2 separate regions of the Homo sapiens genome follow, and region 1 is linked to region 2. The links are contacts of gene promoters, found by promoter capture Hi-C in human tissues and cell types (Jung and others, 2019). All regions are on one chromosome and are shown on one strand. Each heading gives the region's core, a stretch centred on a gene start or on the middle of the fragment in contact. The rest is flanking DNA. Distances are from core to core; before and after follow the strand shown.

Region 1 (6,153 bases), core at 27-2,526, 300 kb before region 2:
AGCACAGGCCAACTGCTCTCAAAGGCTCTTCTGAGAGAAAGACCTAAGACCTAAGGGCTCATCAGACTTTCTTTTTTTCTTTCTTTCTTTTTTTTTTTTTGAGACAGAGTTTCGCTCTTGTTGCCCAGGCTGGAGTGCGGTGACGCGATCTCAGCTCACTGCAACCTCCGCCTCCCAGGTTCAAGGGATTCTCCTGCCTCAGCCTCCCAAGTAGCTGGGATTACAGGCATGCGCCACCACGCCCTGCTAATGTTTGTATTTTTAGTAGAGACGGGGTTTCACCACGTTAGTCAGGCTGGTCTCAAACTCTTGACCTCAGGTGATCCGCCCACCTCGGCCTCCCAAAATGTTGGGATTACAGGCGTGAGCCACCACGCCTGGCCTCATCAGACTTTCTTAAAGGAGCCCATGACTCGGAAAGCTTTAAGATCCACTATTCAGTAGACAAGCAAAATGTGGCCATCCACCCAAAGGAAAATAATCCAGCCATACAAAGGACTGGCACACGCTACAACACAGACAAACCCTGAAACCTGACGCTGAGTGAAGGAAACCAGGCACAGAAGGACACATAGCACGTGATCCCATTTCTATGAAACATCCAGAGTAGAACGATCCATAGAGACAGGAGGTAGTAAACTGAGGGCTCCCAGCACCGGGGCACAGGGTTTCCTCCTGGGCAATGGACATATTCTGCAACTAGAGAGTGGCAATGGCTGCATAACCTTGTAAGTACATTAAGAACCACTAAGTTGTATGCTTTAAAAGGGTGAATAATATCCCCATTTCTAAAATATATATTTTAAAGTCCACTATTTGAAATGGCAAAAAGAAAAAAACCCACAACCCAGAAACAAGAAAGTAGCACCAAGAGCAAGACACTGCAGACAAGGGACCCCAGGGGAGGTGGGACCCTGGGACGAAGCAGGGCTTCCGGGAGGTGTCCCTGATGCCCCGCCTGGCCCCACGGCCTCCTAGGTGGCACCTCATGTTTTATTACACACTCAGGGACAGGAACCAAGCTCACCTCATCCAACTTTGAGTTCGTGAAGCAAAATCTCCACTGAGCAATGGACAGCAGCAAGGAAACGCAGATGTGCATGGAAACCACGGGAGATTAGTAAGACGAACACACACGCAAGGCCCCCAAGCTGGGGGCGGAGTCAGTCCCTTCCACGCTCGCTTGCCACCACTCTGTGTCTCACGCCACAAGATGAGTCAGACAAACCCATGATAAAGTGCACACGGTGTGCTCTTCAAAACTCCAAAGCACAGGCCAGGCGTGGTGGCTCACGCCTGTAATCCTTGCACTTTGGGAGGCCGAGGCAGGTGGATTTCCTGAGCTCAGGAGTTCAAGACCAGCTTGGCAACATAGTGAAACCTCATCTCTCCTAAAAAATATAAAATTAGCTGGGTGTGGTGGTGCACACCTGTAATCCCAGCTACTCGGGAGGCTGAGGCATGAGAATCGCTTGAAACTGGGAGATGGAGGTTACAGTGAGCTGAGAGTGCGCCATGGCACTCTAGCCTGGGCAACAGAGCAAGACTCTGGCTCAAAAAACAAAACAAAACAAAACTCCAAAGCACGCCAAAAATACATGTAACGTGAAAAAGTTGCCACTCTGTTTGATGCGCAATGACAGTCCATGGGGCCAGTCACTTCGCAGTGTCCTAGTGGCCTCCAGCCTCATGCTCCTGTTGGGCAAGTCAGCATCGGGTGCCCCAATGCCGCTGCCCGCTGGCACGGAGGCAGACAGCCCTGCTGAAGAGACAGTCAGGGCCATCAGAGAACCCGGGAGAACACGGGAGAACGGTGAGCTCAACAGGAAGAAGGCACATCATGTGGGGTCACACCAAAGATGCACGAACAGGAGACACCAAGGCTGTAGGAGCCTGCTGTGCCAGGTCAGGAAGAGAGGGAAGCACAGGGGCCCACACGGAGAAGGGAAAAGGACCTGTGTTGGGTGTGACCCCCCACCGAGAGGTGTGAGGGAGCATTTACCCTTCACCCTAGATGGACAGAAGGGCCAAAGAGGAATGAGGCCTCCTCGCACCAGCAAGTTTAGGATTAGGAGGTTGTTTAACAGGGAAAGGTGACACAATTAGAAAAGAAATGTTTGCTTTGACTGCCTTCTGAAATTGACATGGGAGAGAGCCTGGGTTGGCAAGTAGAATGTGCATTTGAACCTCAGAAGAGGAGATAAGTCTACGCCAGGAGCCTGAGGGTCCAAAGACGCTTCCCACCCTGCCCGCAGATGGTTCAAGCAAAGCACACTAGACCGAAGCTCCTGGAATCCCATCCCTCTCTCTATACCTCATCTACTAAACAGCTGCCCAGTCCCCTCCGCTGCTGGCCAGCTTCCCCCATAGAGAGCTTTTCAAGACCAGCCACAGTGGATGGCAGATCTGCTCTCATGGACTGACTTTCTTTCTTTTTTTTTTTTTGAGACGGAGTCTTGCTCTGTGGCCAAGCTGGAGTGCAGTGGTGCAATTCTCCTGCCTCAGCCTCCCGAGTAGCTGGGAGTACAGGTGTGCACCACCATGCCCAGCTAATTTTTGTATTTTTAGTAGAGATGCGGTTTCACCATGTTGGCCAGGATGGTCTTGATCTCTTGACCTCGTGATCCGCCCGCCTCTGCCTCCCAAAGTGCTGATTACAGGCATGAGCCACCGCGCGCAGCCTGGACTGTCTTTCAAAAAGGCACTAATGAACGATGCAAAGGACAGACGACACAGGAAGAGGCCGACAATGAAAAGTCGGTGCTGCGTGCCACTCTGGAAGGCACAAGGCCACTCACCACAACCTGACATTAACCACAACAGCCTTGGATGACGGGATCTGACCAGTGCTGAGATTTCAAATAAACAAGTGAGCTGAACATGAGAAGACCAGCACAGGCATCAAATATAGGACAAAACGGAACTGATGTGCTATAAATAGGTGAAGTCAGCAGAAAATCTTACATGAATGGTCACGTGGATACCAAAAGCAAACAAACAAAACCGCATCGGCGGCAGACCCGAATCAAGGGGTACCCCTAATGTGCAGAGACCAACAGCCGTTTCCATGGATCTCCAGAAACGGTGACAATCTCCCAGTGGAGGTTCTTCAGTGGAGAAGCTAGCTGCGTGGTGGGCAGGGGGTGTCTGCGGCCCTCAGGGCTCTGCCCAGTCACACAGGGGAGCTGGGTCCTGGCTCTTCCCAAAGCTCCGGGCAAAGCTGATGCACCATGGTCAAGATGCCATAACCCACCCAGAGGACACCACAGGAATGGCCAAGGCGAAGGACTTTAGGTCACCACGAGGCACAGGCAAGGGCACAAAGAGTGGCAGTGTGGCCACAGTCCAGGTACCCTGGGTCAGAATGTGAGACATCTGAAAGAAGGCTCAGAAGGCAGAGGGGTGCTCTGGGGGTACATCTGGAAGGACCAAGCTGTGTGTGAAGCTACAGGAATGAAGAGCAGGGCCCAGCACAGGTGCGCTGCTGGAGAGGTAGTTCTCATAGGCGGAGGCAGGAGGCAGCTAAGACTCCCAAGGACAGAGATGGTGATGGACAAAGCATCATCCGGAGAAGCCACCAGTAGCCAAAGGGTGCTCTGAGCCAGAAGCCAGAATTCTACCTGGGGATGACTTGGTCCCGTGACTGAACGAGGGCCGACGCAGACCTGGGTCCCAGTGTAGAGGGCGAGAGGCCTGGGAAGGCTGGCCGTCCCCCAGGAAGACCAGCGCCAGGCACGGTGCCTGCGGCCCAAGCCCCTCGCTGGACCATGGTGCTATCATTTGCAGTGGAGACCACAGGCTTCAGGTGAGCCAGGGACCCAGAACTCACGCACACTCAGAGCCACTGGAAACACACAAACCATAGCTCAGAAAAGCAGTGGTAAGAACCCTGGAGCATGGGATACGGGCCACTTCCTGGCAACTTGGTTTGACCGAGTTAGACAGCACACAATCAGCCAAAGCGCTGCAAGGCGAGGAGCCCCAGGCCAAGCGGCTGGTGAGAAAATGCCAGAAAGCAGGTCCGGCGGGCTTGCTGGAAGCTGCGCTCTGAGCAGAAGCCGGCCCTGCCTGTGGGCACCCCCGAGCCTGGCCCGTGGCACACTCACCATGATCAAAGTCGATGTACTTGGTGATCTTGTGCCAGGTGCGGTAGTAGAAGTGGCGGACCTGCTCCTTGTTCTTCACCATGCTTGCTGGCTTGCCTTTCTTCTTGTACTTCAGCGCAATGTTGTTCTGAATCGCTTCAAAGTCTTTCCCATGCTGGAAAATAAATTCCATGATAAATGTAGAGGGGTTAAAACAATGCAGCTTTCTGTGTTAACTGGACCCTTTCCAAGGTTCCGAGAAAGGAGAAAGGAGACAGGCTGTAGTCAAACAAGCAGCCCTTCCAAGCTCTTATCTGTGTATGAACTTGAACTTCGACTCCCTGGAACCTTAGGTTTTAATCAGGATAAAGGAGCAATGGAACCAGGAACAGAACCATCAGAGCACATGGATACCAAAGAGGCAAGCACCCCAGACAGGAGAAACATAAAGCTCATCACTTGGACAAATGCCTTAATTGCTAGAGTTCTTCACAGATAATGAAATGAGACACCTCCATGAAGAAAAGCTCTGGAAGAGAAGCAGTTATGGCATCTTAAAGAACAGATCAGAAACATCCTCACTGCTTTAATCTGACAAAATATATTCCATATTCAAACGAGGACAGCAAACGTGAGCATTTAGTAAGTGAACCGCACAGACTATACTCTGATTATACGTGGAGGCCAACCCTTCTTGGAACGCTTCTTTGCAAAAGCTGAGTGTGACTTAGATTTTCAGAAGAGAACTTGTGTTCCACAGAACAGCCTCACCTCAGTGCTGCTTCAGGCACTGCCATAGAGAACCTAGTGTTCGATCATCTCATCAAAGCCAAGCTCCTAAGTACTGGAAGGGCTCAGCAGTAACCAGCATCCTTAGCGCCCAGGTCTTGGTTTCTAAATACCACTTTGCAAAGGGAAGCTGGGCTCCCAGGAAAAACAGCCAACTGCAGAGCAGCAAGCAGCCACTGAGTCTGGAATGCCTGACGGCACCAGCACACGAGAATACACTGGCAGGCGATGGGGACGTGAGAAGAGGATGCAGGAGCCAGCATGAGGCTCCCCAGTGGCCAAATGGGGAACCAACGGGGCGAGAAAGCCGACAATGGCATGGTGGACCATGACCCCCAGAATAAAGCCAACATCTGTGAGTCTACATGGGTGTAGGTAACAGAATAACTGCACGTGTGGGGGAGAACGCAGGGCTCTTCTTGGCACAGGACTTCCAATCAGCAAACACAGAAAGAATAAAGGAAACAGAAGGTCCTCACTGGGAGCAAACAGCACAGTAACAACTGCTTCAGGGAAAAGGCAGCGATGGCTGCTGAAATCAGTGGGAGCAAAGAATGATGAGAAACACGGTATTTACACAGCCTCAAAGCCAAGCCATGACCCAGCCACGGTGAGACCTGGCAGACGCTGCCTGAGGGCAGCGACCAAGGCAAACACCACCAGGACGGAGACAGAAAGAACACCACGGGCCGCCAACTGGATGCGCCAAGAAGGACACGGTATCACTGCTGTGGAATTCTTGACAGAAATGCGTAACATAGAATCATGAGGAAACTGCAGATCAACCCAAACTGACACAAGGGACATTCTACAAACCAACATGCTGTGAGTCTCCACAAGTGTTGAGGTCATCAACGACAAAAAAACATGCAAACAAAAAACAAAAACCCAGGAGCTGTCCCAGGTTACAAGAGACTGAGGAGTTTGGGCAGCCGAGTGCGGCGCAGCGTCCTGGCCAGGATGGACCTGAGTGGGACCCTTGTTAATCTGAATACCGCCTGCAAATGAGCAGGCAGGGCCATGTCTGTGCTCATACCCTCACAGTGCGGCTGCCCTAATGCTGTGGAGGCAGGGTGGAGGGGACCTGCTTTGTGCTGTTTTTGCAACTTTTAAAAAGTCTGAAACATTTCAAAACAAAAAGTTAAGGGAGCCAGGTGGTGGCTCGTGCCTGTAATCCCAGCACTTTAGGAGGCTGAGGTGAGAGAATTGCTTGAGCCCAGGAGTTTGAGACCAGTTTGAGCAACATAGTGAAACCCCATCTCCACAAAAAACTTAAAAA
Region 2 (6,652 bases), core at 309-2,808:
TGCAAGGAGGATGGCACATCTCATTTCACAGCCCAGGGTGGGGGCGACTTGCCCAGAGCCCAGATGTGAACCTGGGACTCTTAAGCCAAGCTGTCTCCTGCCAGGCCATTTGGGGGCTCAGGGTTGGGGGCAGTGAGGCAGCTGAGTCTGGGGGCAGCGGAGCAGAGGCTGGGTCAGCCTTCCTCCCCAGTGCAGGCTGTCTAGGAACAAACGCCTTCAACGTGTTGGGGGCGCCCTTCTTACCACATTTGGGGCAGGGGGTTAGCTGATGGTGCCCTGGGTGTGTGCCTGGGGCGGGAGGTGGCAGGACATCTGCCCCACAGGCTGGCTCTCCACGCTGCCCTCTTGGTCTTCTCTCCAGCTTCCCTGCTCTTCCTCCCTCAGCCCCCCGACTCCCCTTCACCAGGCCCTGGGGGTTTCCCGCAGGAATCTCTCCCTGGTCTCACCGACTCCTCCAGATGGCCCCTGCGAAGCCGATGGCGGTGCCCAGGTGCAGGTCACCTGGCGGGCCCGCTGCAAACGCTGCTCCCCGGGGTCTCATTCCAGTCGAACCCCGGGAATCTGCATTCTAACAAGCGCTGCCGGTGGCCTTGGGCTCCCCGAAGCCTCAGACGGCTGCCAAGGTCCAGCCGCTGGCGCCCAGCAGGAGCGCAGGAGACCGGAGCCCGAGGCGCCTTCTTCCTCCCCTCGCCCGTGTCTGCGCAGCGCTCCCTCCTCCCTCTGCTCACCGACCCCCTCCCTGCCCCGCCTCGCGGCACCCCCTTTCCCGGGGCCCCGGGCGCCCGCAGGAGCCACACCCCCAGTTCTATGGGGGTCTCTCCCCTCGGAGGGGGCGGGCGGTCCGGGGTGAGTCTGGGGGCGGGTCTAGTGTGTCACTTTAAACTCCTCCCCCGGAGACCCCGGCCCAGGCAAGAGCCCACAGCCCTTTGCCGAGTGGGGCTGAAGGAGGGGCCGCTTTGCACTCGCAGGGATTTCGGGGGGACTAAAGGGCCTTACGAGGACCTGCGGGAGGAGGGAAGGGACGAGGACGCTGGGGGGTGCAGCCCGCCCGGGAGGGGTGCTGGGAGGCCCCGGGCCCGTCTGCTCCCCCGGGGAGGGAGGCGCGGGGGTCGAAGCCTCGCTTGGCGGCTCAAGTGCGGGGGAGGCCGTCGCCAGCGCCCGGATACCCTCCCCGTCCGCTCCGCAGTGCGGACCCCACCGCCGCACCCTCTCCTGCGCGTTCGGAGGGGAAATGCCCCCGAGACCCCGCCCCTCCAAGCATGCGCGGCCTCAGTTTCCCCAGGGCCGAGGGGACGTCGAGACCTTCCCACCGCCCCCCGCCTCGGAGGCCACCCCCGTGCCTCCTGGGGGACCCGGACCAAGGGGGCGGCGGCCGTCGGTCCGTCCGGGTTGGGGCGCGGGGCCGAGCCCAGACGGCGGCCCAACAGCACTGGCCGCAGCCCGCGGCACTTACCGTGGGCCGGCGCGGGGATGGGGGGGCTCCTGGGGCGCTGCGCTCGGCACCAGCTCGGGGACGCCGAGGCACAGCTACCGCTCCCAGCCGCGCGCGCCGACGACTGAGCAACTGCTGGGCGGACGCCGCTGCGGGGGCGGGGTCTGACTGGGGGCGGGGCCGGGCCTGACCGGGGCGGGGCCTGACCGCGCTCGCCCCGCCCCCCGCGTCCACGGCGCCTTAGGGGACCCGGCCGGGGTCTCCGTGCCTTGAGCCGGGCCGGAGCCCCCTCCCCCGGGATGCGGGGCTGTGAGTCAACCCACAGGTGGCTGCGGGACGGGGAGCGGGCTTGGCTGCCTCGGGACCCCGCCTGGCCGCGCGCGCCCTCCCCGTGGCGCGTGGGGTCTAGAAGGGGGTGGTCGGCGGGGTCTCCTCCGCGGACCCCAGGGAAGCCACGGTCACGAAGACCAGCAGCGGTGCAGACCTTTCTGGAAGGGCCTGACTCAGGGACACCTCGCGGGCCCCGCCGCTCTCTTCTCGGGGCGGGGATGCGTCCTGCAGGGATCCACTCGGGACGCCCCACGCCCACGCGGACGGTCTGTGGGGCGATCGTCCCTGGGGCTCTGGTGAGGGCCCAGTTGGCGCTTGTGGGGTCACAGCCGGCCAGAGCCCCCGGAGCCCCTGGGGTCTGCACTGGACCCCGCCAGCCCCTCCCGGGTGGCTCCCCGCTCTTCCTCCGCTGCGCTGTCCTGGAACCCCAGCGGGCCCGCGGTCTCCTGCAGGGTTTGTTAAGGCATTGATGGGTCCTGTCCCCAACCCGCTGGTCCCGAAGTCTGGGTGGGGGCGCGATCTGCGTTTTTTCCCTTTTTTTTTCAGACAGAGTCTCGAAAAAGCTCTCAAAAATAGCTCTCAACCAGGTTGGAGCGCAGTGGCACCATCTCCACTCGCTGCAACCTCGAACTCTCCGGCTCAAGTGGTCCTCCCGCTTCAGCCTCCCCAGTAGCTGGGACCACCCGCCGGCTAATGTTTTTTGGTTTCTTTTGTGGAGATGGGGGTCTCCCTATGTTGCCCAGGCTGGTCTCAAACTCCCAGGCTCAAGGGATCCCCCTTCCCCGGCCTCCTAAGGCGCTGAGATCACAGGTGTGGTCCCCACGCCAGCCAGCGCCTGCACTTCCCAGCTCCAGTCTGCTGCCGCCAGTCCAGGGACCACACTTTGAGAAGTCCGTGCTAAGCATGGTCCTGTCGGGGGCCTGAGGCTCTCAGACTTGCCGAGGGCGCAGCGGCCCCCCGGTCGCACCTGCCCTTGGTCGAATACAGCTGGACACTCGCAGCCCTTTGGGGACAAGGGGTGGGGGGTGGTCAGACTTTGGAGTTTTCACCCGAAGGGCACCTGGGCAGCCCAAGGCCAGACAGGCTTCCAGAACACAGCTCTTCAAAGGGAGGGGGCCCGTCTGCCAACAACTGTCTTGGCTTCTGGATCCCAACTCACTCAAATCCATGCCCGCCCCACACCTGTCTGTGCAGGATCGGGGGCAGGACCCCTGGGTGGGCTCTCCTTCGGGACGCTCGGCCCAGGCTCTGCCGGATCCTGACCCAGCACAGCCAGGCCGGTGGGGGAGGGCAGGGAGCTTGCAGGAAATGCAGGGACTGGCTGGGACAGGGACGCGGTGGGGGAAGCAGGGGAGGGGGCCTGGGCCCTCAGCCCCACTCTGTAGCAGTGTTCTCCTGAGGGGCTGGTGGGTCTGGAGACCGGGTCTGGGAGTGACGCCCCTGCCTCTGCGGTCTTGCACCAGGTTCTGCCCACCTGTTGGAACAAACACAGGCCGGTTGCCATGGTGATCACACTGGCTTTAAGTGAAGGGACAGGCTCTGCAGCTACGGTAAACAGGAAGTTGGGAGGGGCAGCCGCTGCTCCGGCCCCTACGAGAGCACCAACCCTGAAACCAACACTGCAGTCCGTTGGGTGCGGGAGCACCCTTGGAGACCTCTCCCCACTCTTTTCTAGGTAGGGAGACTGGAGTCCGGAGACGGGAAAGGGCTTTTCCAGGGCCACATAGTGATAGGTTGAGTCCCAAACCAGCCCTGGGCCTCCGTTTCCCCAGGAGAGGACGGTCACTAGGACTGTCCCCTCCACAAACATTTGGTGAGGAGTCGAGGAATGAACGATCCGAGCGACACCCCACTCAGTGACCAAGGCCTTCATTCTCCAACTTGTTCTGAGGCTGAAGACAGGCTGACCTGGATCAAAGTCCCAGCACCCTGCTCACCCCTGCCCCAGGGCGACCCTCCACTGCCCGGGCCTCAGTTTCCCTCTTCTGTAAAATGGGGACAACAGCAGCACCCACCTTGGGTGCAGCTGGGGGACCTCAGTGAGCCAGTCTCAACTCACAGCAGGTCAGCCTCAGTCCCAGTTGGTGGGGATGGGAACTGCAGCCACCCAGCCAGAACTCCGGCCCCTCCAGTGACCCAATTTACCTTTCCATAGCTTGGGGCTGGAAGCCCATCCTCGCGTGAGTCCCCTCCCACTAAGAGAGAGGGCAGGAGAGTGGGCCGCCCACCCTCCCCACCCTGAGCCCCAGGCCTCACTCTGAAGGGGCTACCCTGGCGTCTCTGCCTTCGGACCGGAGTGCAGACAGCTGCCGTGCTCCGGGGACAGTGAGGGGATGGCGCAGGTGCAGGAACACCTCCCACCGATGTGTCGGGACACGAGACCCCCTGCCCAGACGGGGTCAGAGCTTGAGGAGGCTGCTGGGGCACCAGGGCTGCTTGTGCAAAGCTGAGAAAAGCCATTTTTCAAGCCTGGCTCTTTTCACATTCTCAGGACTTTGTGCTGGAAAGGGTCTGGCAGGCAGGGAGAGTAGCTTTTCCTCCTTAGGGCCGGGCCGGTGGCGGGGGGCGGAGATGGGGGGGCAGGTAAAAACACCAGGCTCTGGATACGCAGGCGCCAAAGCCGCTGAAGCACACAGGTGAGGCCATGGCAGAGTTAGACAGCCCCTCCTGTTCCACGCTCATGAGCACAGCGCAGGGCCCAGTGCTACCACCCTCTGGTGGCAGCCCTAGAAATTGCAGGCACAGCCTCCCAGAATCTGCCCCCAACTTCCCTCTGAGGACCCAAGCAAGGAAGGGCAGGGTCCTTGGAGAGCTCGTGGGGTCAGAGCCCAGGGACTCTGGCCAGGGACCCTGCCTGCCCCGGAGCTGGAGGACCCTGAAGACTGCCAGAACCTGTTCCTTGCCCCATCAAGAGAGGGGCTCTGGGTGGGAGGGCCTCAGCCCAAGTCTGGCCTCATGCCTGAGATGCTGGTCTCCAGATCCCACACCAGAAGCTCCGGGAGTCCTGCTGCCACGCGTGCACAGGTGGGGCCGGCTGGAGGTGACCACCCAGTGTCACGCTGGAGTTCTCTCAGGCCTCCGTGCTAGTAGCAGCATCTGTGAGGGGTCCAGGGCAGGGCAGGGACAAAGAAGTGGGCCCAAGACAGGGTCCTACCAAGCCCCCAAACAAAGGCCATTGGTGTGCCAGAGCCCTGCAGGCAGGACAGCCCCTGCTGCGGTGAGGCTTGGATGGCAGGGAGGATGGCACCCTGTCCCCTGGCCCCGCCTCCCACCAGCCTGAGGGTGGGGGTGTCAGAGGCCCCTTCCCAGCGAGATGGGCTTCTGTGCTCACTGTGGTTAGGGGCCCAGCAGGGAGAGGCCAGGCCCTCAGTGTGCATCCTTCTGTGCAGAGCTGGGGTTGGGAGGCGACTCCTCCCAGCTCTGGGGGCTTCAGAGTCCCTCCTTTTCTTTTTTTTTTTTGAGATGGAGTCTTGCCCTGTTGCCCAGGCTGGAGAGCAGTGGTGTGATTTCGGCTGTAACCTCTGCCTCCTGGGTTCAAGTGATTCTCCTGCCTCAGCCTCCCGAGTAGCTGGGACTACAGGCGCCCGCCACCATGCCCAGCTGATTTTTGTATTTTTTTGTTTTTTTTTTTCAACTGGTAATCAATTTATTAAAATAGTTGACTTAAGCATCTGCAATGGTGACTTCCACTTCAACTCCTGGCTCAATACTGATGGAAGTAATCTGCTTAACAATCTCAGAAGGACTGTGCAAGTCAATGAGTTGCTTATGGATGCTCATCTGGAGTTTTTTTTTTTATAAGTTTTTTTTTGAGATGGAGTCTTGCTCCGTCGCCCAGACTGGACTGCAGTGGCGCGGTATTGGCTCACTGCAAGCTCTGCCTCCCAGGTTCACGCCATTCTCCTGCTTCAGCCTCCCAAGTAGCTGGGACTACAGGCACCTGCCACCATGCCCAGCTAATTTGTTTGTATTTTTAGTCGAGATGGGGTTTCACTGTTAGCCAGGATGGTCTCAATCTCCTGACCTCGTGATCTGCCCGCCTCGGCCTCCCAAAGTGCTGGGATTACCGGCGTGAGCTGTAACCTGGCCTCATCTGGAGTTTTTCTTGTAGTGATTCTCAAAGTGTTGGTAGGATTCAAACCGGTCCTTTCACTTTGAGATTCTTTTCCTTTGTGCCTCTGATCAAGTCAGCACACACCTTTTCAAGTGATTTTATGCTGTAGCTCGTTAGAGTGATTCAGATTTGGTGAATTTTGGTGAATTTGGTGAATTTGGCGAATTTGGTGAATTTTGGTGAATTTGGTGAATTTTGGTGAATTGCCATCTCCGGCTCCTTGGGTGTTTTTCTGGTATCCTTAAAAGCCAAAAGAATTTTTTAGGCCGGGCGTGGTGGCTCACACCTGTAATCCCAGCACTTTAGGAGGCCGAGGTGGGCGAATCACGAGGTCAGGAGTTCGAGACCAGCCTGGCCAACATAGTGAAACCTCGTCTCCACTAAAAATACAAAAATTAGCCAGGTGTGGTGGCGTGTGCCTGTAGTCCCAGGCACTCGGGAGGCTGAGGCAGAAGAATCGCTTGAACCCGGGAGGTGGAGGCCGCAGCGAGCCGAGATCGCCCCACCACACACCAGCCCGGGCGACAGTGTTAGACTTCGTCTCAAAAAATAAATAAATTTTTAAAAAATAATAATAAAGCCATAGCTGCTGCGTGGCTTCCTGACCAGCTTGTTCCTTGGCGAGAGCGGACAGTGGTGAGTCAGGAGCAGGAGCGTGCGGATCAGCGATTCACAGCACCTACCACCACGTCTTCCTCAAAGGGCTAATTTTTGTATTTTTAGTAGAGACAGGGTTTCACTATATTGGTCAGGCTGGTCTTGAACTCCTGACCTTG

Evidence for each region. Contacts are between HindIII fragments. The study calls those that stand out against the background at their distance.
Region 1: a contact is called between a fragment that was not itself captured here and the fragment with the promoter of BAIAP3 in region 2, in 1 of the 25 tissues and cell types used here (dorsolateral prefrontal cortex).

Annotation. Positions count from the first base shown.
Region 1 is chr16:1,630,319-1,636,471 of GRCh38, reverse strand. CRAMP1 (cramped chromatin regulator 1) reads right to left here. Exons shown (of 21, transcript NM_020825.4): 4 at 4,107-4,260. Among named protein-coding and RNA genes, the nearest start is that of CRAMP1, 21 kb to the right of the region's middle. The HindIII fragment of the contact is 4,859 bases long and covers 1-3,705 here.
Region 2 is chr16:1,328,551-1,335,202 of GRCh38, reverse strand. It overlaps BAIAP3 (BAI1 associated protein 3), which reads right to left and starts at 1,558. Exons shown (of 34, transcript NM_001199097.2): 1 at 1,454-1,558. It also overlaps the pseudogene RPS20P2. RefSeq lists silencers at 1,509-1,668, 2,404-2,604 and an enhancer at 3,381-3,430. The HindIII fragment of the contact is 17,320 bases long and covers 199-6,652 here.